Regions from separate parts of the Homo sapiens genome. Here all the other regions are linked to region 5. The links are contacts of gene promoters, found by promoter capture Hi-C in blood cells and fetal thymus (Javierre and others, 2016). All regions are on one chromosome and are shown on one strand. Each heading gives the region's core, a stretch centred on a gene start or on the middle of the fragment in contact. The rest is flanking DNA. Distances are from core to core; before and after follow the strand shown. Region 1 overlaps CYB5D2 (cytochrome b5 domain containing 2). Region 2 overlaps ANKFY1 (ankyrin repeat and FYVE domain containing 1). Region 3 overlaps ANKFY1 (ankyrin repeat and FYVE domain containing 1). Region 4 holds the start of SLC52A1 (solute carrier family 52 member 1). Region 5 holds the start of LINC01996 (long intergenic non-protein coding RNA 1996). Region 6 holds the start of C17orf107 (chromosome 17 open reading frame 107).

Region 1 (4,750 bases), core at 1,822-4,321, 450 kb before region 5:
CTAAGAGGTTGGTGTGCAAGGCACCAGGAGTGCCTGCAGTAGAAGTTCTTATTAAACGCGCACCAGCAGGACTGAAGTCAGAAACCCTGGGAACTTGTGCCTTCCCACACCTGCCTCAGCAGCTGAGTATTCACTCTCACTCACATCTGCCTTCCTGTCATCACAGGGAGGGTGACAGGACGGTTCTACGGAGAGGATGGGCTGCCCACCCCGGCACTGACCCAGGTAGAAGCTGCGATCACCAGAGGCTTGGAGGCCAACAAACTACAGCTGCAAGAGAAGCAGACATTCCCGCCGTGCAACGCGGAGTGGAGCTCAGCCAGGGGCAGCCGGCTCTGGTGCTCCCAGAAGAGGTAAGCAGGCTCCCCTTCTTCTCCTTTCTGCCTGTCCCAAATCCAACTCCTAGGCCATCCTGCCTGCAGTATTCAGTGAATTCAGGAATTGATTGTTAACCCTGGGGAGCTTTTTCAAAATACTGATAATAATTCTCAACTTTGGCTGCATATTAGATCTTCTGGGGAATTGCCGAAATTACGGATGGTCAGACCTCACTCCACTCAACTGAATGGGTTGAGACTTGGACTTGAGGCCTGGGCATCTTTTTATTTTTTCCGAATTCTCCAAAGATCCTGCTGACACAACCTTGACCCGGGAATGAGAAGGCACAAGCAGGATTTCTTGCTTTCTTTGGCCTGCTCAGCCACCCACGGGCTTTGGTTTCCTGTTTGACAGCACAAATCATGCCTATCTATAGGAGAGGGACGAGGAGGTGGGGAGGGTACCTGCAGTGATGGCTTCAACTGCTGTCTTAAAAACAGGTGAGGCGGGCATGGTGGCTTGTGGGCCACACCTGTGGTCCTGGCTACTTGGGAGACTGAGGCAGGCAGGTCGCTTGAGCTCAGGAGTTGGAGTCCAGCCTGGGCAACATAACAAAAAAACAGTAACAAACAAAAAAAACCACTGCAAATTCGGAGTTCTCAGCCTTAAATGAGCGGAGCAAGGGCAAAGGTAGCAGGAAGGAAAGCTCCTTCTTTCCTGGCCGCTAGCTTTGAAGAGACAGCTTCTCCAGTGTCATCTCAAGAAAGAGGGGACTGTGAGAACCTGGCCTGCTCACTTTATGGAGAGAAGCTAAGATAGGCGTGGGCCTTCCTGTGACACAGGCCTGAATGCAGGTAGCCTCAGAGAGCACTGGTCTCTGAGACTCCAGGAGGAGGAGACTCCAGGAGGCCTGCGTGCGTTCAGATGCTTGACTTTGCTTCCTTGGGCCCTGCCTCCTTTTCCCTCCCCACAGCCTTCCCCTGTGTCTCCTGAACCTCTTCTTGCTTTCATGACTGAGTAGTTCAGGCTCTGCCTTCCCCACAAAACCCTTCCAGGGCCACCCTAGTGAACTGCGGGGCCCTATCCCTGTGCCTCAGCTCAGTTTGTTGTCTTCTGTTCACCTGTGTGTGTCCCATTAGACTGAGAGGAACAAGTGCCGAAGGCAGGGACAAGGTGTGGAGTACAGATCCCCAATGATGGGATGGAGGCTGGGTAGAAGAGGGAGGCGTTTGGGTGACAGCCTTGTTCTTGGTAAGCTAGAAGTAGGATGTTTTCTCGCTGGGGGCAGTTTCTCTGACAGCAGGCACCGGAAGCTGTCTGAGGCGTCAGTTCCAAGAACCTCAGTTTCTTTCTTGCAAGGCCTCTGAGTCCATCAGAGACTGAGCCCAGTGCCCTGAGGTGGGCAAGGCCCCTGCCCAAGATAGGAGGGTGCTCAGGTTGTTGGGCCACAGCTGAATCCTCCGTGTCTGAAGCCTAGTGCCATCAAGGACTGGACCTGTGGGGCACAGGACAGCTTGCAGCTACACTCTATGCCAAGGGCTTCCCAGAGAAGGCCGACCCAGGTGGCCAAGGGCCAGGGCCCAATTGCCCACCCCCAGCCAAGTGCCCCAGAGAAGAAGGTGAAGACCCTGACCTGCGCTGGGTTGTAGTGGGGAAGGAAGAGGACAGTCGCACCCAGACACTGCTTCTGAGAAGCTCACAGGCCAGCAGGGGAAGCCCTTTCACAGCTGTTGCCACCAGTGCAGGAACGTGGTGCTGCCTCCTAAGAAGGGGCAGGGCAGGGGCTGGGGAGCACAGTGAAAGGAACCATGGACTGTGCCCTTGGCCTGGGGAAGGTGGTGGTGGCCCTGCAGGGGAAGCTGGAGGATGTTAGGAGAGAGCATGAAGGCTCAGGGGCTGAGCGCTGTAGCCTGCTGCCTTGGGAAACACTCTGGTAGGCTTCTACTTTTCAGAAGGCCTGGCTCTCTGCTTCCTGCTCTCCCCTTCCCAGAGACTCATGAGTTCTCACATTTAAGAAGTCCTCTTTCCGTCTATCCTTAGTGGAGGTGTGAGCAGAGACTGGATTGGCGTCCCCAGGAAGCTGTATAAGCCAGGTGCTAAGGAGCCCCGCTGCGTGTGTGTGAGAACCACCGGCCCCCCTAGTGGCCAGATGCCGGACAACCCTCCACACAGAAATCGTGGGGACCTGGACCACCCAAACTTGGCAGAGTACACAGGCTGCCCACCGCTAGCCATCACATGCTCCTTTCCACTCTAAGCCGTAGCCTCTTCTGTTAATAACACACAGAGAGCTCTGCCAAGCACCTGAGTAGGCCCTTGACACTTGTGTGCCCTGGGATGCCTCCTGGCGCGAATCAGGAGGGTCTGGAAGGACTCTGGCTATATTCTGCAAATGTGGCTCATGCCCCTTACCGTGGCTCGGCGTTGTGGTGCCTGAGGGACAGCCGGCCACCTGCCCAGTACTGGTCAGCTTTTCAACACTATTCCCTTTGACCTACTGGCCATCTTCCTCACAGCCCTCAGATATCAACGGGCACAAATAAGACCAACTCAATTTCCACTTGAATTTACAACCAAAAGCCTGCTGAGTTGATTACAGCTGGGCCAATACAGTACGAGGCAATAACAAATTAGTGTGGGTTGATTCTGGAATTGGAAAAGCTTTTGCTTGTATGGATACAGCAAATCCAGATGTCTCTGAACAAAGCAACAATTTAAAGCAACGACATTTTCTGTCCTTTAAGCACTTAAAATCAGGTGTGGTGTGTTTTCAAAGGCAGAAGTCTGCATTTTGAGCAAAAGGTGGCTTCCCAGCTCTAACAAGGTAACTGGTTAGCATGACATTAAAGCTTGGGCAAGGCTTCAAACTTAAGGTGGCTGGGCTTGCTGCTTGTCCAGTGGTTTGTATGTCCAGCGTCATCTGGCAATGTCATACCTGTTACCTCTTGACTACTTGTGAAGGTAGATGGGGGCAAGGAGTGTTCCTACTTCAGACAGAGAAGTGGGACCAGCACTACCACAGACAGCGCCACGGCCTCTGTGCATCGCCTCATCAGAGCTTCCACCCAGCTCCCTTTGCCGCTCAGTCTCACCCTCAACATCCACCAGCTTCCTCCCTCTCTGTCACTGTCTCCTTTTTCTCCATCATTCATTTCACTAAATCGCTTTCCAGATTCACAGACTAGAAAATGGAGGCTGCCTCCCCTTCACTGGCAGACCCGTACTCACTGCCCCTGTCCCCTTCACTGGCAGACCCGTGCTCACTGCCCCTGTCCCCTCACTGGCAGACCCGTGCTCACTGCCCCTGTCCCCTCACTGGCAGACCCGGGCTTATTGCCCCTATGGCCACAGCTGTTCCTTACACTTGGGCTCTGGCTCATGGCTCCTTTTGCCTGCCCCCGCCATCCTCCTCACCTGCCCCTCTTGTACCTTTAACCTCTCCCCGTCTCCTGGATCTTCCCCCAGGTATGCATCAAACAGCTCACTTCTCTCACATCATAAACATTCCCTCAACTCCAGTTTTGGCTTATACTCACTAGCTTTGCTTTTCAGCTCCATTTGCTCTAAAAATCAGGAGAAATTCTGCATTGGCACATTCCGTGGTCACATCCAGTTCTTACCTAGGCTTTGTCACTCTGGATACTGTGGACCGTGGGGTCCTCCATGAAACCCTCGCTGGGCTTTATCCTGCTTCCCTTTTTGCCTCTGCCCATTCCTTCTTAATTGCCTTGAGAACCCCGTTTTGCCTCCACAAACCCCTTCCCATTGGCTCCTCTCACTCCAAATCCGACAGTTACTTAGACCGTCAAACCTGCACGTCTACTCCAGGCAGCTTTGCAGAGCATTTCACCTTCCCCTCCCATGCTGCTTCTAGTTCTCCAAGGGAATGGCACCACCAGCTACACGCAGAGTCAGCATCCGAGCAGCCGTCCACACTCCATCCTCCCTTCCCTCCTCCTAACCCGCCTGCAGGTCCTGGGACCTCTGCCTCCCTCATTCTCTCCCTTTCCTTCCCTCTTATCTGTCCCTAGTACTCTTCCTCTGGCCTAGGCTGTCATTTCTCACTTGGATTACTGAAGGATCCTAACTGTACTCCCTCCCTCCAATCCCTCCTCCACACTGCTGGGAGCCGTCTTTCTTTCTTTCTTTCTTTCTTTTTTTTTTTTTGAGATGGAGTCTTGCTCTTTTGCCCAGGCTGGAGTACAGTGGCGCGATCTCGGCTCACTGCAACCTCGGTGGCACAATCTTGGCTCACTGCAACCTCCACTCCCTGGGTTCAAGCGATTCTCCTGCCTCAGCCTCCCAAGTAGCTGGGGATTACAGGCACGTGCCACTACACCCAGCTAATTTTTGTACTCTTAGTAGAGATGGGGTTTCACTATGTTGGTCAGGCTGGTCTCGAAATCCTGACCTTGTGATCCACCCACCTCGT
Region 2 (4,890 bases), core at 2,042-4,541, 360 kb before region 5:
CCAAGTTTAATCCCCCATGTGCTCCCTAAATCTGATCGCTCTCCTCGATCCTCAGGACCTTTCTTTATCATCAACCACCCCATCTCCGAACTCCAGTCTCTCTTTCACCTGGGTCCTGCTAGTCAGCATACGAGCCAGTTTAAGTCTCTTATCTATTAAAGCATCCCACTTCCACATCACATCTGAAATCCTCAGCCCCGCCATCTCTAGCTACCATACACCACTGTCTCACCTGCCATTCCCTCTTCTGTCCCCACCATCCCCTTGAAACTCCTCTCACCTATGACCCTCTAGTTGCCAAGTCCAATGGACTCCTGCCAGTGGTTCTCCTCCTAGACCTCTGACACCACATTGCACTGTTGTCCATCCCTTCTCTTACTCCAGCAACCACAATACCATCCTCTGATTCTGGTTCTCTGTCTCTTTCACGTGCTTCCCTGCATCCTTTCCCAATCTTTTCTTTTTCTTTTTAAAGAAATAGGGTCTCTGTCACTCAGCCTGGAGCGCAGTGGCACAATCCTAGCTCATCACAGCCTCAAACTCCTGAACTCAAACTCCTGAAACTCCTGAACTCAAGTGATCTTCCCACCTCAGCCTCGAGAGTAGCTAGGACTACAGGTGCTTACCACCATGCCTGGCTACATTTTAAACTTTCTGTAGAGATGGGGTATCACTATGTTGCCAGGCCTGGTCTCAAACTCCTGGGCTCAAGTGATCCTCCTGACAGCCTCCCTAGTACCTGGGACCACAAGTGTGTGCCATCACACCTGGCTATAAATTTTTAAGTTTTTTGGAGAGATGGGCCTTGCTATGTTGCCAGGGCTACGTTGTCTTGCACTCCCAGGCTCAAGCGACCCACCTGCCTCTGCCTCCAGAGTAGCTAGGACCAGAGGTGTCCATACTTGGGAGGCTGAGGCAGGAGGATCCCCTTGAGCCTAGGAGGTTCAGGCTGCAAAGAGCCGAGATTGTGCCACTGTACTCCAGCCTGGACAACAGAGCAAGACCCTGTCTCAAAAAAAAAAAAAAAAAAACAACCAGCCAGGTCTGGTGGCTCATGCCTGTAATCCCAGCACTTTGGGAGGCTGAGGCGGGCAGATCATGAGGTCAGTTCAAGATCAGTCTGGCCAATATGGTGAAACCCCATCTCTACTAAAAATACAAAAATTATCTGGGTGTGGTGGCACACAACTGTAGTCCCAGCCACTCAGGAGGCTGAGGCAGAAGAATCGCTGGAACCCAGGAGGTGAAGGTTGCAGTGAGCCAAGATCGTGCCACTGCACTCCAGCCTGGGTGACAGAGGACAGTCCGTCTCAAAAAACAAACAACAACAACAAAAAACAACCAAAGAAAAAAAATTATGAGTAATAGAGAAGACAGGCAATTAAGCCAACGCAGTAAACCCTGAGAGCACTCTGATAGGGGATACAAATGGAGTGTGGCAGGAGACCTCCTGGTTTAAGCTAGTGTAAAGAAAATGTTCCAGAAAAGTAGTATCTTACTTCAAAAGATTTAAATAAAGCCTGTATTTGTTTGTAGCATACTGGACCCAGAAAATGCAAGAGAAGGTTTCGATCTTTTATTTTCTTGGTCAGATTCTCCTTTTAAGCTTGTATCAGTCAACAGATTTGTCAAACAGACAAAGTACATAAACACAGTATATTTCTCTACGAGAAATACAAATAATTATGAGCCCAAGCCTCGCCCTCTCCTCCAAGAGTTCACTGACAATAGTATCAGCCACTCACCAGATGCTATGCAAGTCAGCTGAAAAGGATGGCTATAGTATATACCACATCTTGCTAGTTCAACCTGGTGGCTACAAAATTATATCCCACTTGCCAAGAGACAGCCCCCAAGTTTCCACAGTGGTAACCTTTTCTTCCATAAGCAACCTGAACCCTCTAACCTTGGTTTCAATCACACCATATTCTAGCCAACCTAAATCTTTTGCTCCTCAAGACCTCCAACCCAGCATGACTATAGCTGGCTGGGGAATTTCCATTTCCATTTCACTTAAACTGTTGATCTGCAAATATTTATGCATTAAGCATTTTGGCAGATTAGGAGGTGCCTCTTTTAAGAGTTAAAAGGGCAATCTAGGCTGGGTGTGGTGTTTCACACCTGTAATCCCAGCACTTTGTGGGTCCCAGGCAGGAGGATCTCTAAAGCCCATGAGTTTGAGACCAGCCTGGGCAACATGGTGAAACCCCGTCTCTACAAAAAAATACAAAAATGAGCCAGGGGTGGTAGTGGGCACCGGTAGTCCCAGCTACTCAGGAGGCTGAGGCAGAAGGCTCGCTTGAGCCTGGTAGGACGTAGAGGTTGTGGTGAGCTGAGATCGCACCACTGACTCCAGCCTGGGTGACAGAGAGAGACCCTGTCTTAAAAAAAAAAAAGAGAGAAAAAGAAAAAGAAAAAAAAATGACTGCAAAGTTGCTGATTCCTCTATCTAAGCCTTCAAATGGAGGAGATCCTGAAAGCTCTGTTTCAGCCATCTTCCCCCTCTCTGCTCTCTAGGAAACCATACACATTTCCTTAAATATCAGTTATACACATAAATTCCAAAATCTACAGCAACAGCCCCAGTCTCTCTACAGAATTCCTGATTCAAATATGTAGCAGCTGCCTGGACAATGACACAAGATATAAACTACCAAGGTAATGAGCAGAGAAGAAGCTAGATAAAAGGAGGGCTTTAGCATGATTTGGGGCTCTTAGTCACAAAATTACAGATGCTCCCCCACCCGGCAGCTTTTGTCGGGGGAAACCCAAAGGATCACTAATGCACTCAGGCAGCTTATGAGCACTTACCAGCGCTACTTCAATTGCCATACCATTTCACAGTATAATGGAGGAGTGCTTATGGCTGAGACATTACCAGCCCGTGGGGAATACTGTCTGCTTACAAACAGCAATGCAAATGTGTCCTTGAAGTGTCACCAAGCTGTACAGTTCTTACAAGAAAAAGTACAACATTATTCTGAGCAAAATGGAGAGAGAATTTACAGTGTGCAGGTTCTAGGGCCAGACTGACTGGGATCAAGCCCAGCCCCACTACTGCCTAGTTTTGATACACCTTAGGCAGGTGACTCATTCTCTTCACCTGCAAGGATGTTGTAAACACTGAAAGTACTAATACATGTAATAACCTTAGAATACAACCTGCTCTGCAGTAGGTGGTCAAAATATATTAGCTATTATTACAATTCTTAGAAAGGCAACCCGGGGTAGTCAGTCCTGTGTTGCAAGATTCTCCCTGCACACTGATAGCCCAGAGCTCGCATTCCAGAGTCTCACTGACTGGGTTTGACCCCAGCTTACCCATTTACTAGCTGTGTGACCTTGGGCAAGTTACTTACTTCCTCTCTGTGCTTCAGTCTTCTCACATGGAAAATGAGACTAATGATACTATCTTAGAGCAGGTGTCCCCGACCTCCAGGCCGTGGACGGGTACTAGTTTGTGGCATGTTAGGAACTGGGCCACACCCAGCAGGAGGTGAGCTGCGGGCGAGTCAGCATGACCACCTGAGCTCCGCCTCCTGTGAGATCAGCAGCAGCATTAGATTCTCACAGGAGCGTGAACCCTCCTGTGAACCGCGCATGCGAGGGATCTAGGTTGCATGCTCCTTATGAGACTCCAGTGCCTGATGATCTGAGGTGGAACAGTTTCATCCTGAAACTACTCCCTTCCCTACCCCATCTATGGACAAACTGTCTTCCACGAAACCAGTCTCTGGTGCCAAAAAGATTGGGGACCACTGTCAGAGAAGTACGTGTAAAGTCATTAGGATAGGTTAAATCACTCGGAACAGTGTCTGGTTTAGTAAGGCTTACCGCTGCTGCTACTCCTCTGCCTACTTATTCTTCATCAAGTGACCAGTTTTCAGCCGTGGTTTTTTCTTTGTCCCCTTCCAACTTTCATTTGAAAAGCAAGCCTAGAAATTTAATTAGCCGGGCATGGTGGCGCATGCCTGTAGTCCCAGAGATGATGCCACTGCATTCCAGCCTGGGTGACAGAGCAAGACTCTGTCTCAAAAAAGGAGAGGAGAGAGGAGAGGAGAGCAAACCTAGAAATTTAAATAATAGATAAAACCTAGAGTTTCACCAAAAAAGCTACGCTAAGTATCAGTGAAGAATGCCAGAAACTTCCAATTTTCTCATATTTCTTTCCAAATAATACCTATCTGTTCTCCATGAGTGCAGTCTATGATCAGACTTTCAATAAGTATTCTTTCTGATAGTTCATCACTCTTGAGTTAACAAAACATGCTTAAGACAAAAAAATCTTCATTCATTACAAATAGCCTAAAATAAAGAGTGCAATGTCTACTGCAAAAAAGTAGTTAATCAGCAAATTACCTCTTCAGAAGTTATATGGCACAGTCAGAAGAGAAACCAAGAATGATTTTTAGAACACTCTTCCTTCTAGGTCAGGAGTTGGCATACTTTCCGTACAGGGCCACATAGCAAATATTTTAGGCTTTGGGAGCCATACAGTCTCTGGGGCACTACTCAACTCTGCCAGTTGGAACACAAAAGTACAAATTAATGAATGTGGCTGTTTCCCTAAAAATACTTTATTTATGAACACTGAAAATGGAATTTCATATAATTTTCACATCATGATACATTGTTTTGATTTTTCTTCAACCAGGTTAAAATATTTAAAATATAGTTAATATTTATAAGTTATTTTTATATGTTACATCTATAACATATAAATAAATTCTTAGCTTAAGGACTGCATAAAAACAAGTCGACAGGTCTCAGGTCAGATTTGGCTGAGAGGCCATACAAGCCCTGTCCCCCTGCTGGTGATTTTAAAGAATTAGAACGTTAAAATGACAGCCAGAGCCAAATGAAAAGGGAAGAAAGCAGTTTATCTATCTG
Region 3 (5,062 bases), core at 655-3,154, 410 kb before region 5:
AGACGCAACCAGAATCCCAGGCAGAATCACCACCCGCAAGAAATCCCACATTTCTACAAGGCTTCTAAAACCATGACCCAGTATCAAAACCTGAAAACGGATCTGCTTATATGTGACCATTATTCAGCGGCCAAAATGGACAAGAATCAGCTCAAGGAAGTGATCTCAAATACTCCCCAACTCAATCCCAACCCCTTCCTGAAGGCACAGACAGGATTTTCTTGAGAACAGCAGTTTCTGCCACAGGTGTGCAGATTTTCCCTCATCTCTTCTCCATCAATTCTAAAAGGAAACTCTCCCCCATAATCTTCTATTCTTCTCAAACACACTCAGAGCAGCAACAGGAAAGAACTGATGAAAGCGGCATTTAACCCCTTTCACTGCTTTCATTTAGCACTCGGGAGCCCTGCAGGAGACTGGCACTGCAGAGCCACCACTAACACACACACACACACACCCCCGAGTCAGGGCCCAAGGCTGCACCTACCCACCCACCCCCCCCACCACCCCCCACCCACACAGTGAGTCAGGGCCCAAGGCTGCACCTACCCCGCCCCCCACCTCCCCCCAAAAACACACACTTTGAGTCAGAGCCCAAGGCTGCATCTACTACACACACACACACACACACACACACACACACACACACACACACACACTGCGAGTTTATTGCCGTTGGAGGAAAAAAATGAAAGAATCAACAGCAGGGAAAGGGATGCAATTATTTTAGGAAATAAGGTAATTATCACATGATACTGAGATTTCATGAAGCTACATCTTATTTACGTACTTATCTATCACATAAATACATTCTCCTGTCTGACAACCAAACTTTACAAAAAATCTTTTTTTTGAGAGGTTTTTCAAAGGTATAAAATACTGAGAATGTTCTAATGACAAGCGGGTCCCAACTGTGGTCAGTGATTCAGGTGACTTAACTATCCTTCACAGCCCCTCACACCACTGTCCCAAGACAAGTAGCCTTTTCTCAGATCCTACCACAAGGAATCCTCAACTATTTCTGGAAAGGGGCAAAATGAACACAATAAATATTGTTAAATATGCAAAGGGCCGTGCTATGGACAAAGGTAGCAAGCTGTGCAGATAAAGTGGGAGTGTTTACGAGAAGGTAAAATTGGGTTTAATATAGAGAATTTTCTAACAATTAGAATTTTCTAACAATTAGACCTCAATAGTTCTTCAAACTATCCAAGCAACTCTAAGAAATGCTACAAGGTTTCCTTGGAGGCACTGGACTAGATGACCACTCTGGTTCCTTCAAACATGAGATACAAATTGCTTAAAAGCTCGAAAACTGGCTCACGCCCGTAATCCCAGCACTTTGGGAGACCGAGGTGGGCAGATTGCTTGAGCTCAGGAGTTCGAGGCCAGCCTGGACAACATGGCAAAACCCTGTCTCCACCAAAATACAAAAATCAGCCAAGTGGGGTGGCGTGTGCCTGTAGTCTCACCTACTCAGGAGGCTGAGGTGAGAGGATCACCTGTGCTCAGGAGGTAGAGGCTGCAGTGAGCCAAGATCATACCACTGCGCTCCAGCCTGGGTGACAGAGTGAGATGCTGACACAATTAAAAACAAACAAACAACACACAAAAAAAACCTCGAAGACTTCAGTTACCCAGGATAGAAATGTTTTCCCCAAATGCCTCTGGTTTTAGTAGTGACACTACTACTACACATCGATGTCTGTGACTTTAATGAAAATAAGACTGAATAATGCCAAACTAAAGAACATGAACTCCCCGTATGCCAATTACATGCTACTGTAAGATATCTTCTGAGAACAGTGCTAAGGGCACAGTGTCTGCTCCCCAGCTTACCTCCCCTTGCTGTCCTGCATGTTGGGGTTGGCACCAGCCTGCAGAAGGGCCTCTGCAATCTGCGCCATCTCAGACATCACATCTGCTGAGTGTTTCTTTGAACTGTACAAGGCCACAAGGTGCAGTGGTGTCTCCTGGGCACCCAGTGTAGCAGCGTTGACAAAGGCCCCATTCTTAATGAGGAAAGTGGCAGCAAAGAGATCTCCTTGAAAAGAAATAATAGAAGAAACAGTGTCAGGGCAAAGTATTCTGGCCAGTGCTTCTTCAAGAGGGAGCAGAAAATGACTGCAGACAAAGGAGAGCGATAACTAGATGTGTCTGAAGGAACCTCTTGGGGCATCTGTAAGTGGAAACTCATTGAGATCATGGAGTTACAGACGAATTCAAAAGGCTCTGCTCAATTTTTGGTTACCTGTTACCACTTGTCCTGCCTCCTCACCTCAGTATCCTTTCACTGTTTAAGAATACTAGGCTGGGCCAGGCGCAGTGGCTCATGCCTGTCGTCCCAACACTTTGGGAGGCCGAGGTGGGCGGATCACCTGGGGTCGGGAGTTGGAGACCAGCCTGACCAACAGGGAAAAACCCCGTCTCTACTACAAATACAAAACTAGCCGGGCGTGGTGGTGCACGCCTGTAATCCCAGCTACTTGGGAGGCTGAGGCACGAGATTCGCTTGAACCCAGGGGGTGGAGGTTGCGGTGAGCTGAGACCACATCATTGCACTCCAGCCTGGGGATTAAGAGCAAAACTCCGTCTTAAAAAAAAAAAAAAGAACACTAGGCTTCTACTCTTCAAAGGCCTCCTTCGGTCATCTCTCAGAAGGGTTTCCAGGATCCCTCCCTACACAATTTCTCTCTCTCTTTCTCTTTCTTTCTTATTTCCTGACCACAGCTTGTACCTAACTAAGCAACACCTACCCCCATTCTGCTGTACTTGCATTCACGTTCCTACTCAGAGTAATCCCATGTCTGTTTTATTATTATAAAATTTATTTTCTTTTTAGATTTTTTTTTTTTTCAGACAGAGCCTTGCTCTGTCACCCAGGCTGGAGTGCCGTGGTGCAATCTCAGCTCACTGCAACTTCCGCCTCCGAAATTCAAGCAATTCTCATGTCTCAGCCTCCCAAGCAGCTGGGACTATAGGCATGTGCCACCACACCTGGCTAATTTTTTGTATTTTAGTAGGGACGGGGTTTCACCATGATGTACAGGCTGGTCTCAAACTCCTGAGCTCAGGAAAACCACCTGCCTCGGCCTCCCAAAATGCTGGGATTACAGATGTGAGCCACCGTGCCCGGCCTCTTTTTAGTTTTGTAATCTCATTATATACACATAACTGACTTAATAAGAAGTTTACAATGAAATATTTGAACAGAGTATCTGTACACATTACTATTTACAAAAATTTCACATGGTAAATAACCTTGTTGTGGAAACAAAATTTCTTTCTAAATCCCTTCCATTGACTTACCTCTTGGAGTATTACAGATAAGAGTCTACCTAGGACAATTTACAGATATCAAATTAAGACTGAATAACATCCCAGGTCTTTGGAAGGCCGAGGTGGGAGGATCACTTGAGCCCAAGAGTTCAAGACCAGCCTGGCAACATGGGGAGACCCCATCTCTACAAAAAAAAACTTAGCAAGGAGCGGTGACAACAGCTGTGGTTCCAGCTACTCAGGAGGATGAGGTGGGAGGATCGCTTGAGCCCCAGAGTTCGAGACTGCAGTGGGCTATGACTGTGCCACTGCACTCTAGCCTGGGTGACAGAGAGAGATCCTGACTCAACAAAGGCTGAGTAACTTACAGAAAAACCATTCTTCTTCTTATTTTTTGAGACAGAGTCTCACCCCCGCCACCCAGGCTGGTGCACTGGCACGATCACGGCTCATTGCAGACTCAACTTCTTGGCTCAGAGGATTCTCCTAACTCAGTCTCCTGAATAGCTGAGACTACAGGCACGCATGCCACCATGCCTGGCTTATTTTTTATATTTTTAGTAGAGATGGGGTTTCACCATGTTGCCCAGGCTGGTCTCCAACCCCTGGGCTGAAGGGATCCACCTGTCTCAGCCTCCCAAAGTGCTGGGATTACAGGCATAAGCCACTGTGTCTGGCCAAAATTCATTAATTTTAATAGTTTCATTTACCATCTTTGACTATTTATGCTCTGTAGGAGTGAAAAAAACTACCTTGACATGTTGACAAAAGGCCAAGAATTAAGATGAAAATGTTAATGGTACACATTTGTGAAAATACTTTGTCAGACACTAGTAAAGAGAAATTGACTCTAGATTGGTTCTACAAATACATGGTTAAACTCGGAACTAAGCAATCTGACAAGTGGCCATTTAGTGTTAAAAAATACTTCTGAAAAACCAGTTAAAGTTTACTTGTCAAGTTAACTTGGAGGATGACAAGGATTAAGCAATTAAATTTGTTGTAAGATTAAAAGTTCAGTCTTTCTTGGATTTAGTTATATTTAACATTTAAAACACGCAAACACCATGTATATATAAAATGTATGTTTCTTAAGAAAACAAGGCAAGAATAGCAAAGCATCATAACACACAGAACAGAAACCTGTTACAAAGGCTTGGGGCATCACGCCTTGCTGGGTGAAAGCAATTGCTCTCAGTAGCCTCCAGGTGGCATCAATGAGCTCATATCGGGAAAGTTGGGTTTTGGGGATTTTTTTTTTGTTTTTGAGACAGGGTCTCACTCTGTCACCCAGGCTGAAGTGCAGTGTCATCATCACGGCTCACTGCAGCCTCAACTTCCAGGGCTCAGTTGATCCTCCCAGCTCAGCCTCCTGAGTAGCTGGGACTACAGGTGCACGCCAACATACCCGGCTAATTTTTTTGTGTTTTTGGTAGAGGTGGGTTTTGCTACCATTGCCCAAGCTGGTCTTGAACTCCTGGGCTCAAGCAATCCGCCCACCTCAGCCTCCCAAAGTGTTGGGATTACAGGCGTGAGCCACGGCACCTGGCCTGGAAAGTCTTTCAAGGGTTCAGTTAAACATCTTCCAAATAAAAATCATTTGCAACTTGCAACTTGAAGTCCCCATGTGTGACTCTGATGGGTGATAGCAAGTTAACCCAAGAGCTGGGATTCAGAGGTACTTTCTGCAGATTCCGTCTCCATTTCACCAAGGTCTACAGGATGAATTTCTTGCAAATCACATCCTTCTTCAGCTGGATGATCCCCAGCATGCAGAACAACG
Region 4 (5,103 bases), core at 2,142-4,641, 420 kb after region 5:
ACTGTGCTAGGGGGTAGATCGACCTTAGGGGAAACAATCCCCGCTTATTAGAGGAGGTTTTGGATCAGGGTTTGCTTTATTTGAAATTTAACAAATACAGAAAAGCAGAAGGAAGAAAATTGAAGTAATCCATGTTTCCACTGGGCGCGGCGGCTCACGCCTATAATCCCAGCACTTTGGGAGGCCAAGGCGGGCGGATCACGAGGTCAGGAGTTCGAGACCAGCCTGACCAACATGGTGAAACCCCCCGTCTCTACTAAAATTACAAAATTAGCCGGTCGTGGTGGCACACGCCTGTAATCCCAGCTACTCAGGAGGCTGAGGCAGGAGAATCGCTTGAACCCGGGAGGCAGAGGTTGCAGTGAGCCGAGATTGCACCACTGCACTCCAGCCTGAGCAACAGAGTGAGACTCCGTTGTCTTTAAAGGCCAATCCCATAGCAAATGACAGAGACTCACTTGAGTAAGAAAGGTTTTTGACAAGAAAACCCACAGAAGAAGAGATAAGCTGTGGATATAAGAAAGGCACTACAATCTGTATTTAAATCTAATTGCACACTAGATAATATATGTATGAAAAATTATTTAATCCAGTTTCCTGATTTCATTATATATTTCTTATAAGGTTTTCATTAGGCTTTTGTTTTTGTTTTTGGTTTTAAATAAAAACACTTTATTGCACAAATCCCACAAAGGTCTCAGGCCCTGGGTCCAAGCCCACAGCCCCAACCTGTCCCCTGGCTCTGGGCCTGGTCTTTGGTGCCCACCCTGGCCTCACATGCCAACGTCTTCTGTGGAGTGTGCAGGTGTCCATGAGCGTTCCTGTGTTGGGGGAAGCCTGCCTGGGCCACAAGTAGTCAGGCACTGTGGCAGCCTCACGATGAAGACAGGTGGGGTGGAGTTGGGTCCCCACCTGCCCAGGCTCAGGGGCCACAGGGGTCTACACAGTCCTTTCTGCTTTGAAACACGTGGTAGATGCTGGTGGGAGGGAACATGGCACCGGCACCAAGCAGGGAGCCCACTTGGATGGCCACACCAGCTGCCAGCAATGCCGGCCGACCCCCACCATGCAGCAGGGAGCTTGCAGCCACCTTCACATATGAGAACACACACAGACACAGCACCCACGACAGCACCTGCAAGGGAGGACACAGCAGCAGGCTGAGCATGACATGCACTTGCTCCAGGGGACACCCTCCTCCCCACTTCATGTCTCCACTTGCTCACCACAAGGACCACCCCTGCAGTGGTGCCCACCAGGGGTGGGCAGGGGCTCAGGATTGCCAGTGCCATCAGGTAGGCCCCAAAGAGCATGCCCAGCAGAGAAAGACCAACCAGCCCTGCCAGGGACCTGTTGGGGATGAGCAGAGACTCAGGGCTGGCTGTTCTGGGACCTGGACCCCAACCTTAAGTTCCACCCACCAAGCCTGGGGACCCTTTTGCACCTGCACAGCACGCCCATGGCCAGGAAGCAGGCAAGGGGGTTGGCGGCACTGCCCAGCACCACAGCCAGGTGGTAGGCCAGGCGCCCATAGGGCAAACAGGAAAAGCTCTGCACAGAAGGCAGCACGCCATTGGTCACGGCACTGGTGAAGGCCATCAGGCCCAGCAGGAAGGCACCATGGGCTGAGAACAGCTGATGGGCCTCAGGGTCTGGGCCAGGGATGGTGCCTGCTGCCTGGCTCGGTGGCTCCTGCAATGGCAAAGCCTCTTCTTCCTCCTTCTCTTCCTCCTCTGCTCCTGGGGATCCCAGTTGAAGTTCAGGCCCTGAGCCCCCTGTGGTTACAGAGGGTAGTGATGGCAACAGCAACAGGAGACCCCGGAAGGCGGCAGCTGAAGTGACCAGAAGGGCAGTCAGTGCCCAGAAGAAGGTGCTGGCAGGAAAACGCTCAGGGAAGTCGAGGGGAGGCCCAGAGGTGCCATTGGTGGGCGCTGGTGGGCACTCGAGGCGGCCCACACCTTGCACTAGGGCCAGCACACAGGGGAGTAGGGCACTGAGACCCTGACCCAGGAAGAAAGACCGTAAGAAAGGAGGTGGCAGGTGGCTCAGGAAGGGCAGGAAAGTGACATTAGAGGTACAACAGGCCATTGCCAACACCAAGGCCAGAGTTAGGAAGGCCACAGAGTGGAGCTGCCCTGCCACTGGGGCCACGTGGTGCCACAGAGGGGCCAGCAGGGCTGTGCCCACTACACTCAGCACCTGTACCACCTGGATGGGGACCTGCTCGCCCTTGCCCGGGGCCAGCTGCCTCCACAGGGTCACCACCAGCAGACCCAGGTTTCCCAGCGCCACAACCACAGAGAGGTATGAGGGGAGGCTCCAACCTGCAGGGAAGGAATGATGCCATGTCAGGAGCACAGTGGCTAAGGGACAAAGAGCTGCCACAGGCCACCTTTCTGGGCATACCTGCCCCACGCTTCCCTGTACCTCCCTCCCACTCACCCTCTGGAAGGTCTTTTACCACCACAGGCAGCTCCACCCAGATCCCGTTCACAGCAGCCCAGGAGCCCATGCCAAAAAGGGCCACCAGCAGGTGGGTCAGCACCAGACGGCCCAGCGTGGGTGCTGCCATTCAGCCCAAAGCTGGACCCTCCAGGACAGGGCAAAGGTCACAGGCAGGTCCTTCCCTAGGTAGGTCCAAAGATGCTTTGGTTCTTCTGGAAACTGAAGACCTTCTAGCTGGAGGGAAACAGACAGGCTGGCAGGTAATAGGCTGGTGGGACAGAACCGGAGTCAGAAGACAAGTCGGTCAGACTGCTAAGACCAGGGCAACTGGAGGGAGAGGTGGCCGGGGGCGGGCGGGGAAGGTGGGGAGCCAGGACTTACCACGGGGCACCGGCTGTGCGTTTGGGTACAGCGACCCAGCAGTGCCGGCAGGCAGACAGGCAGAAAGCTGGCCCGAGGTGCAGCTGCCCCAGAGGAGCAAAGAGGGAGCTGATTTTCCTACCCACAGAGGACCCGGGGTCCAAGTTGTCAAAACAGCTCAGCACTGGCCGGGTGCGGTGGCTCACACCTGTAATCCCAGCACTTTGGGAAGCTGAGGAAGGCAGATCGCCTGAGGTCAGGAGATTGAGACCATCCTGGCCAACATGGTGAAAACCCGTCTCTACTAAAAATACAAAAATTAGCTGGTCGTGGTGGTGGGTGCCAGTAATCCCAGCTACTCAGGAGGCTGAGGCAGGAGATTCACTTGAACCCGGAAGGTGGAGGTTGCAGTGAGCCAAGATCACACCACTGCATTCCAGCCTGGGCGACAGAACGAGATTCGGTCTCAAAAACAAAACAAAACAAAACAAAACAAAAAAACAGCTCGGCACCAACACGCTCACCCTCAAATGGACCCCGGGACAAGGGCACGTCTCTGGTGCCACTTGCAACCCTAGCGCTTTTGCGACACTCAGGACTTGCTGAGGCAGGTCGAGTTGGAGAGGGGAGTGGCTGGGGCGGGCTCTGCCCGGAGGGGCGTCTCCGTGCTGCCCTCCCGCCTGCCTCAGGGGGGCATCCCGGGAGCCGCCAGGTGCGCAGGGGTCCCCGCACCTCCGGATCCGGCAGTCCCCGGACCCAGCGGCTGGCGGTCTGCCTGAGAGGGAGCCCCCTCCGCCGGGGAGGCGGCCCAGCCCAGAGCCCACACAGCTGGGGTTTTGTTGTTTGTTGTTTTAATTAATTAATTAATTTTGAGACGGGGTCTCACTCTGTCACCCAGGCTAGAGCGCAGCGGTGCGCGATCGCGGCTCACTACAGCCTCAACCTCCCAAGCTCAAGGGATCCTCCCACTCAGCCTCTCCCCACCCCCCCACAAGTAGCTGGGACCACAGGCGAGCATCACCATGTCCAGCTAATTTTTTTTTTTTTTTTTTTTTTTTTTGGTAGAGACAAGGTCTCACTATGTTGCTCAGGCTGGCTTGGCACTCCTGGGCTCAAGCAATCTTCCTACCTCAGCCTCCCAAGTAGCTGGGACTACAGACGCACCACACCTAGCTACCGCCACGCTCAGCTGTTTTTACACTTTTTTTTTTTTTTTTTTTTTTTGAGACGGAGTTTTGCTCTTGTTGCCCAGGCTGGAGTGCAATGGCACGAGCCTCTGCCTCCCGGGTTCAAGCCATTCTCCTGCCTCAGCCTCCCGAGTAGCTGGAATTACAGGCGCCCACCACCATGCCCTGCTAATTTTTGTCTTTTTAGTGCACAGGGTCTCGCCATGTTAGCTAGGCTGGTCTTGAACTCCTGACCTCAGGTGATCCACCTGCCCCGGCCTCCCAAAGTGTTGGGGATTACAGGCGTGAGCCACCGTGCCTGGCCAGCTGTTTTTACACTTTTAAATGGTTGAAAAAAAATTAGCTGGACGTGGTGTGCACACCTGGCTAATTTTTGCTTTTTTTTTTTTTTTTTTTTTTTTTTGAGACGGAGTCTCGCTCTGTCGCCCAGGCTGGAGTGCAGTGGCGCGATCTCGGCTCACTGCAAGCTCCACCTTCCAGGTTCACGCCATTCTCCTGCCTCAGACTCCCGAGTAGCTGGGATTACAGACGCCTGCCACCACGCCTGGATAATTTTTGTATTTTTCGTAGAGATGGGGTTTCACCATATTGGCCAGGCTCGTCTCGAACTCCTGACCTCAGGTGATCCGCCCGCCTCAGCCTCCCAAAGTGCTGGGATTACAGGCGTGAGCCACCATGTCTGGCCCTTTAATGATATTTTGTACTTGTTTACTCACTGACCATCTCAGGGATTACCCTGACCTACTACCCATTTTTGTATGGCCTGCTAGCTAAGACAGGTTTTCACATATTTATTTATTTATTTTTATTACTATTTTTGAGAAAGTGTCTTCCTCAAAAGGAAGTGCAGTAGCACAATCACAGCTCACTGCAGCCTCAAATACCTGGGCTCAAGGATCCTCCCACCTCAGCCTCCTGAGCAGCTGGGACTACAAGCACATGCCACCACGTCCAGCTGTTTTTACATTTTTAAATGGTTGGAAAAAAAAATCAATATCTGTAGTCCCAGCTACTCAGGCGTCTGAGGTGAGAGCATCCCTTGAGCACAGGAGGTCAAGGCTGCAATGAGCCATGATTGTGCCAATGTACTCCAGCTTGGGTGACAGTGAGA
Region 5 (4,882 bases), core at 390-2,889:
TCTTCACCTCATGCAGCCGGCTCTCAACACCAGTGCCTGTGTGCCTTTGTGGGGTCCCACGTGTCCCTTGGGTGGTATATTGGGGGGTGGGCAGGAGATCCCTGGGGGTGTCAGGAGGAACATGGCAGAGCCTGCAGGTGGGTGAGCAGTATTCTCCATGGATTGGTTGGTCCAGGCTGCAGTCTTGCCCTCTCTCTCGGATTCTCCCACTCTGGAAACCATTCCCTTGCTAGCTCTCTCGTCTCTTGTACGCTTGGGGAGGTGAGACCTATTATTAACAGGACACATAACTGAAGGTTAGGGTTTCAAACCTGAAGCCAATCTGGGAACACAAGGGCTCTGTAAAAAGCATGGCTATATGTTACTGAGTCCTCGCACACGTTAAATGGAGCTCTCCCGAGTTGCAGACATGGCCGTACGCTCTGCGCATGAAACAGAGCAGATCCTGCCAGAATGCAGAACAATTTCTTTTAAACTTTAGGAATGGTGTCCCTCATGTCTCACATTCAGAATGAGACAGACTCGAGTTTTTAAAGTTGGTTCCATGATGTTCTTGTCTGTGGTCTTTGTTGGGGGTGGGGGGTGAGAGATCATAAGACAGTTTGTGAGTTTCAAACATGATTTTACCTCTAAGACAAAGCATGAGAAGAAAATCCAGGAAGGTCTCACAATCCTAAGATATTTGGAAACCACCGTTTTAGGTCGGGGTTACGTGAATGTTCCCCATTTGTGAGACCCAATTTCATCTTGCTTTCTACCCTGGTATGGAGGAATTCACATCTTTTTTCCCCTTTCCCGAGAGAATTATTTCTTGGAGCTGCTCATAAGAGTCTTCTGTTTTTCCAGATAGATTCCTTCACCTGGATTTTGTTAAACTTATTAAGTCGGACCAAATTGGCTTGTGTGTTTCCCTGAAGTGAACGTTTCACCAGAGCCACGATGGGTTTTAGCTTTTCTGATAGCTGATGGATATTTTTCAAGGCAAGCGAGAGCCTATAAGCACTTTCTGAATATGACAGAGCACATGCTGGTGAGAGGAGACCGCACAGGCCAGGTGTTTGGGGAACAGTTTGTTAAAGCCAATGAATTTCGCAAATGTGCTAGATGATGAAGAGTTCTCAGCTTTCCCGGTTGCAGTGATCAGAACTCTGTAACTGGAGACCGGTGTGAGAGAAGATTTTATTCTCTGCCATCATGACCGGGTCTATACGACTGCAGGCAATTGCACAGAAGACTAGAAATGCTGATTCAGTTGGTCAGTTTGGGGTGGGACATCTTACCAGTCCAGCAGAACCAACTCTGGCTTGGGTTTTTCTAGCTGGTGACAGGTGACCAACTCATTCTGATGAGTTGATTACGCCTGTGGACGTGGCCCACTTGATTTATTTTTTCTCCCTCTGTTAGCTGTGCTCTCCCAACCACCTGATAAATGGACCCAGTATGATTATTTCTGAGCCATCTTATCTCTCTCACTTTTAAAGCTTGGATTGGGTTTGCTTTTAGAGCTTTTGATCTCTTATCTCTTGGTTCTTGGACTTGCTTTGATACCAAACAGCCCTCATAGTCTTTTGAAAGAACACCTTAAAAATTCCTAGGCTGGGCGCGGTGGCTCATGCCTGTAGTCCTAGCACTTTGGGAGGCCGAGACAGGACAAATATTTGAGCTCTGGAGTTTGAGACCAGCCTGGGCAACAGAGTGAGACTCTGTCTCTACAGAAAGTTTTAAAATTAGCCAGGTGTAGTGACACATGCTTGTAGTCCCCATTACTTGGAAGGCCAAGGCGGGAGGATGGCTTGAGCCTGGGAGGTCAAGGCATCAGTGAGCGATGGTTGTGCCACTGCCTGGAGATAGAGTGAGACCCTGTCTCAAAAAAGAAAGAAAGAAAGAAAGAAAAATCCCTAAGACCTGACCTGCCTACTCCCTAGAAAGCACCAAATAAGGAAAAGCACTCCGGAAGAATGAAGCTAAGAAGGCTGTGCTCTCTGAGGCATCCGGGCAGCCTTCACTGGAGGGACAAGGTCCAGGTAGGTGGGATGACAAGCTGGGAAGGGGCCCTGAACCAGAGGCAGGTGATGTGGGTGGTGGCACCAGAGAGACACCAGACAGTGTTACCGTAGGTCTTGACTGTCCACCTTCATTCCTGAAGTTGATCCAGCTTTCTTACTGTCACGTAGGTGGATATAAAATCGATCTTTAGGGTTCTGATTTTTTGTTTGTTTTTGTTTTTTTTGAGACGGAGTCTCACTCTGTCACCCAGGCTGGAGTGCAGTGGCACAATCTTGGCTCACTGCAACCTCCACCTCCCAGGTTCAAGCGATTCTCGTGCCTCAGCCTCCTGTGTAGCTGGATGTACAGGCGCCCGCCACCATGCCAGGCTAATTTTTGTATTTTTAGTACAGACGGGGTTTCACCATGTTGGTCAGGCTGGTCTCGAACTCCTGACCTCAAGTGATCCGCCTGCCTTGGCCTCCCAAAGTGCTGGGATTACAGGCATGAGCCACTGCGCCCGGCCGGGGATCTGAGTTTTAATCACTCCCAGTGCAAGCGTCCTTATCTGGTTTGCAGACTGAGTGGCATTTGTGCTGCCGAGGCTCTTCCTGGCTTGCCCTCCTCTCTGGCTGTTGCTTTCCCTCCTCTGTTCATTAGAGCCTCCTCTCCTCGGCTTGTTGCTCCTATGTGCTGTGACCTAAGCTCTATGCTCCTTCTTCTACATTAGGGTTCATAGCCCAGGACTTTGGGGAGTCTGTGGATGTCCAAATTGAGTGTTTTACCTCAATTTGGTTGAGGTTGCAGTGAGCCGAGATTGAGCCATTGCACTCCAGCCTGGGCAACAAGAGTGAAACTCTGTCTCAAAAAATTGTATTTCTGGCCGGGCGCGGTGGCTCACGCCTGTAATCCCAGCACTTTGGGAGGCCGAGGCAGACGAATCACGAGGTCAGGGGATCGAGACCATCCTGGCTAGTACGGTGAAACCCCCGTCTCTACTAAAAATACAAAAAATTAGCTGGGCGTGGTGGCGGGCGCCTGTAGTCCCAGCTACTCAGGAGGCTGAGGCAGGAGAATGGCGTGAACCCGGGAGGAGCTTGCAGTGAGCGGAGATCGTGCCACTGCACTCCAGCCTGGGCGACAGAGCGAGACTCCATCTCAAAAAAAAAAAAAACATATATTTCTTTGATGTTTACTGGCTGGCATTCTTCTGTAAAGAAAGTCTTTCCCTCCCTCCAACTCAGTTTTTGAGTGTTCCTGGAGGCCCATGGATTTTTTTTTTTAATTCAATGTGTTGTAATCGCTTACTGTTATAATTTTTTTTGATGCTCAAACTGTTCAGAGGGAGAAGACAGCTCTTGTGTCTTTTTGCCATATTCCCATGGTTCTTTGAGCATTTTATTTTCTTTTACTTTTTTGAGACAGAGTCTCACTCTGTTGCCCAGGCTGGAGTGCAGTGGCGTGATCTCAGCTCACTACAACCTCCACCTCCCAGGTTCAAGCGATTCTCGTGCCTCAGCCTCCTGAGTAGCTGGAACTACAGGCATAAGCCACCACGCCTGGCTAATTTTTATATTTTTAGTAGAGACGGGGTTTCACCATGTTGGCCAGGCTGGTCTTGAACTCCTGACCTCAGGTGATCTGCCCACCTCGGCCTCCCAAAGTGCTGGGATTACAGGCGTGAGCCACCGTGCCCGGCCTTTGGGCACATTCTTGCTTTCTGGCACAAGGCGCTCCAGACTGACCTTTTACTTTCCTTGCCCCAACTGTGGAATCAGTCATTTATTCAGATCCTGGTCTCTTGTGGTGGAGAATTTTTATTTCCCAATGAAGGTCCAGGGACTTGGTGTGCCGGTTTTGCTGGGTGTCCTGCTTCTAGGCCCTTGCAGTGAACAGAGCTAAGATGTTTTAGAAGAGCCTGCAAGTATACTGAAACCTCCAGCTTCAATTCAGCACCACAGGCCTCATCTGTACATTAGTCCCTATTTTTCCTTTTTTCAAACCATCCTGATTCCCAACAATTTCAATACACTTACGGATTTCTTCTGTACCGCAATGTCCAAATTCTGAAACAGTAGTTTCCGAATTCTTAAACTGATGTCACTGCCAACAACAAACCCACCAAGTAAGGTTTGGGATTTCCCTTCAGCCCCTTTCCCCACCTTTGGGTATATTCCCTAAGGGTGCACAGGGTGCTGGATTCAAAAGTTACTTGAGGCTGGGCACGGTGGCTCACGCCTGTAATCCCAGCACTCTGGGAGGCCGAGGCAGGCGGATCACTTGAGGCCAGGAGTTCAAGACCAGCCTGGCCAACATAGCGAAACCCTGTCTCTACTAAAAATACAAAAATTAGCCGGGCATGGTGGTACATGCCTGTAATCCCAGCTACTAGGGAGGCTGAGGCAGGAGAATTGCTTGAACCAGGACCTGGGAGGCGGAGGTTGCAGTGAGCCAAGACCACGCCACTGCACTCCAGCACACGAAGTGACAGAGTGAGACCCTGTTTCAAAAAAAAAAAAAAAGAAATAAAAGTTACTTGAATTATTTTCTCTTGGAAACCATGTTATGAATTTGATATGCATGAGGTTGACTTGATTCTGTTTGTATTCAATTAAAGGTTTGTTTCCATCATTTTTATTTTCTTTTTTTGACTATGTAAATACTTCACCTAGGTCAAAAGTCAAAACTCTACAAAAAGGTATATTCCCATTCCCATTCCTCCATCTGTTCCCACCCTTAGTCTCTGTTTTCTCCTCCTTGCCTGTCTTCTCCCTTCCTCCTTTTCTTTTTACCTTCCTTCCACAACAATAAGCAGGTATATATCTATCATTTCACAGAGATCCTTCTCGTCCTTTTTTTCTTTTTCTTTTTCTTTTTTTGAGATGGAGACTTGCTC
Region 6 (2,500 bases), core at 1-2,500, 290 kb after region 5:
TGTTTGGTTCCCACCCGCTCCAGCAGAGCCAGACCAGGGAAGAAGAGGGTTTCCTGGCTACAGCCTCCCTGTGTGCAAGTCCTGCAAAGGGGTCTCCTGTTTGGCTATGAAATGAATATAGATAGATAGCTCACAAGCTGGCAGCCACCAGAGTCCCGTGGGGCTGAGCCTTAGAAAGGCTGGGAGGTCAGCAAGGCTGAATGAAGGGCAGTCCTTGCTTTCTGGAAGACTGGCACCTGAGAGCCTATGTGAACCCTTTCCTCCTGCTGACCCCTGGACTGCGGCCAGGCCTACACACGCCAGGGAACGGGCACACACCATTCTTGTGAAGTTCACAAACTGCAGATTGATCAGCAGGGGGAAGGGATCATAATGCCGTGGTGGCGGCAGCCTACTTTTTCAAAATCAATTTCCTACTGGAGATGGGTGGGAAATTGAAGTCGGTGCGAGCTAAGGCTGGATACACGGCGCGTAGGGGAGATCAGGCACTCGGTTGAAGTAGGCCCCGAGGAAGATGAGGCTGGAGCCCACGCTGAAGAGCACCAGAGCGGCCCAGAAGCAGATGTTGTCAAGGGCATTCCCCATGCGCACCCAGTCGGACACTTCCTGGGGAAGGGTCGGCACAGTCAGTAAAGAGGCAGCTGCAGGAGCCAGCGGCATGGGAGACAGTGGTGGGCCTCTGCCTCGCTCCACCCGCCTCTGGCTCCTGTCCCACCTCGCCGGTGGCCTCCTGATCTCTCGTGCTCTCGGCCACGAAGTTCACGGCATCCACACAGCAGCGGACCTCGGGGGCGGCGGCGCCCAGGCTCTGGCAGAAGGCAGCTGGCGGGGAAAACACCGGGGTGGGCCTTAGGAGCCTCCCCCCTGGCAGGCACCCCGCGCGGCCCCCCGGGCCAGGGCCACTGTGCTCACCCGTCCAGGTCCCCTGCCGGTGCCTCTGCCCCTCAAACACGAGCTCGCTCCGTGGCTTTTTCAGTATCAGCTCCTCCGCGCGGAGCAATAAGCCCACCGACGACGCCCGCCTTGGGGGCGAGGCGGCCCGGGGGGCCTCGGGCGGCGGCGGGGAGCCCAGGAGGCGCGGCAGCAGCTCCAGGAGAACCTGGGGCAGGGGCGGGGCTTAGGGGACGAGGTTAGTACGAAGCCCCACCCCGACCCGGGCTGCACCGCCCCCTCCGCGCTTACGTGGCGCAGCCGCGGGGACATGGCGTGGGTGGTGGGCGTCCGCTGGGACACGTTGAGCACGATGACGCAATTCATGACAATGAGCGTGGCGACCACCATGACGAAAATAAGGAACCTGAGGAGCCCGGAAGGCATGACATCACCGTTCCTCCTCCCAGCTACCGAAGGCGCCGCGCGCTGACCTCACAAACACGGCTTCTCCTGGTACGGGCTGGTTACGCCCTCCAGCTGCGCCCCCTACACGACGACAGACGCGTCCCCCAGCCCTTCTCCTGTCCTACCACTTGTGGCGGCCATGAAGGGGACCCCCAGCTCCCTGGACACCCTGATGTGGATCTACCACTTCCACAGCTCCACCGAGGTGAGGCTACGCCCGCCAAGGGCTGCACCTCGAGACCTTCTGGGTAGGTCTCCTGTTCGCCCCTGTGACCCCTGCCCTGCTACTCTACTGCTCTGCTCCTTCTCCAGGTGGCCCTCCAGCCCCCGCTTCTGTCTTCCCTGGAACTCTCCGTGGCCGCAGCCCATGAATATCTGGAGCAGAGGTTCAGAGAGCTGAAGTCCCTGGAGCCACCCGAACCGAAGATGCAGGGGATGCTGCCTGCCCCGAAGCCCACCCTGGGGCTGGTGTTGAGAGAAGCCACAGCCAGCCTCGTGAGCTTCGGCACCACCTTGTTAGAGGTGGGGTACTGGGGGGCTTAGGATACGCGGCGATCGGGTAGCGGGAACAAGGACCTCTGCCTCCCCGCTAACCCCTGTGCCCCCAATGCAGATCTCAGCCCTGTGGCTGCAGCAGGAGGCGCGGCGACTAGACGGCAGCGCGGGCCCAGCCCCAGACGGCAGGGATCCGGGTGCAGCGCTGAGCCGGGTAGCCCAAGCCGCAGGGCAGGGGGTTCGGCAAGCTGGGGCTGCGGTGGGCGCCAGCGCCCGGCTCCTAGTCCAGGGAGCATGGCTATGCCTGTGTGGACGGGGTCTGCAGGGGTCTGCCTCATTCCTGCGACAGTCGCAACAGCAGCTAGGCCTCGGAATCCCCGGAGAACCGGTGAGCTCAGGACACGGGGTGAGTTAGGGGCCAGAGGCGGCGGGGCTAGGGAGGCACTGAGCCGGACTGTCCCCCAAGAGAGCTACTCGGGAGACCTCCAGGTGACGTCCAGCAGCAGTGAGGAGGACGGCGGACCAGGGACTCCATCCCCGTACCAGCCCCACCCAGCGTCCGAATAAAGCCCAGGGCGGGGCGAGACAGCCAGAGCTTTTCCCGGGGTCTCTGGGTTTTGGCCACGCCCCCACCCTTCACACTGGCCACACCCCCGCGGGGGCTCCG

What was found. The method cuts DNA at HindIII sites, captures the fragments that hold promoters and counts their contacts. A CHiCAGO score of 5 or more calls a contact.
Region 1: a fragment that was not itself captured here is called in contact with the fragment with the promoter of LINC01996 in region 5 in 1 of 17 cell types (total CD8 T cells); the score reaches 5.2 in total CD8 T cells.
Region 2: a contact is called between a fragment that was not itself captured here and the fragment with the promoter of LINC01996 in region 5, in 1 of 17 cell types (M2 macrophages). The highest score is 5.6, in M2 macrophages.
Region 3: a contact is called between a fragment that was not itself captured here and the fragment with the promoter of LINC01996 in region 5, in 5 of 17 cell types (naive CD8 T cells, naive CD4 T cells, total CD4 T cells and 2 more). The highest score is 7.3, in naive CD8 T cells.
Region 4: a contact is called between the fragment with the promoter of SLC52A1 here and the fragment with the promoter of LINC01996 in region 5, in 3 of 17 cell types (neutrophils, naive CD8 T cells and naive CD4 T cells). The highest score is 12.0, in neutrophils.
Region 6: the fragment with the promoter of C17orf107 here is called in contact with the fragment with the promoter of LINC01996 in region 5 in 3 of 17 cell types (neutrophils, erythroblasts and M2 macrophages); the score reaches 6.8 in neutrophils.

Annotation. Positions count from the first base shown.
Region 1 is chr17:4,154,508-4,159,257 of GRCh38, forward strand. CYB5D2 (cytochrome b5 domain containing 2) reads left to right here. Exons shown (of 4, transcript NM_144611.4): 3 at 167-353; 4 at 2,359-3,190. The coding sequence ends at 2,575. It overlaps LOC124903898 (a long non-coding RNA gene), which reads right to left and starts at 1,686. Exons shown (of 3, transcript XR_007065581.1): 1 at 1,440-1,686; 2 at 783-917; 3 at 330-416. The HindIII fragment of the contact is 188 bases long and covers 2,978-3,165 here.
Region 2 is chr17:4,244,731-4,249,620 of GRCh38, forward strand. The region is part of intron 1 of ANKFY1 (ankyrin repeat and FYVE domain containing 1); the gene reads right to left. Among named protein-coding and RNA genes, the nearest start is that of ANKFY1, 17 kb to the right of the region's middle. The HindIII fragment of the contact is 3,375 bases long and covers 1,605-4,890 here.
Region 3 is chr17:4,195,534-4,200,595 of GRCh38, forward strand. It overlaps ANKFY1 (ankyrin repeat and FYVE domain containing 1), which reads right to left. Exons shown (of 25, transcript NM_001330063.2): 8 at 1,840-2,044. It also overlaps the pseudogene LOC100420060. Among named protein-coding and RNA genes, the nearest start is that of CYB5D2, 55 kb to the left of the region's middle. The HindIII fragment of the contact is 8,607 bases long and covers 1-5,062 here.
Region 4 is chr17:5,032,035-5,037,137 of GRCh38, forward strand. SLC52A1 (solute carrier family 52 member 1) reads right to left here and starts at 3,392. Exons shown (of 5, transcript NM_017986.4): 1 at 2,827-3,392; 2 at 2,443-2,679; 3 at 1,445-2,324; 4 at 1,227-1,350; 5 at 568-1,135. The coding sequence starts at 2,572. The coding sequence ends at 923. All of the region lies in intron 3 of LOC105371501 (a long non-coding RNA gene), which reads left to right. The HindIII fragment of the contact is 18,376 bases long and covers 1-5,103 here.
Region 5 is chr17:4,608,810-4,613,691 of GRCh38, forward strand. It overlaps LINC01996 (long intergenic non-protein coding RNA 1996), which reads left to right and starts at 1,640. Exons shown (of 2, transcript NR_145431.1): 1 at 1,640-2,024. The HindIII fragment of the contact is 12,447 bases long and covers 1,480-4,882 here.
Region 6 is chr17:4,898,286-4,900,785 of GRCh38, forward strand. It overlaps C17orf107 (chromosome 17 open reading frame 107), which reads left to right and starts at 1,251. Exons shown (of 3, transcript NM_001145536.2): 1 at 1,251-1,543; 2 at 1,651-1,860; 3 at 1,952-2,500. The coding sequence starts at 1,478. The coding sequence ends at 2,248. CHRNE (cholinergic receptor nicotinic epsilon subunit) reads right to left here. Exons shown (of 12, transcript NM_000080.4): 9 at 1,183-1,297; 10 at 913-1,099; 11 at 716-822; 12 at 1-606. The coding sequence ends at 451. RefSeq lists silencers at 848-997, 1,018-1,127 and an enhancer at 1,328-1,637. The HindIII fragment of the contact is 47,734 bases long and covers 1-2,500 here.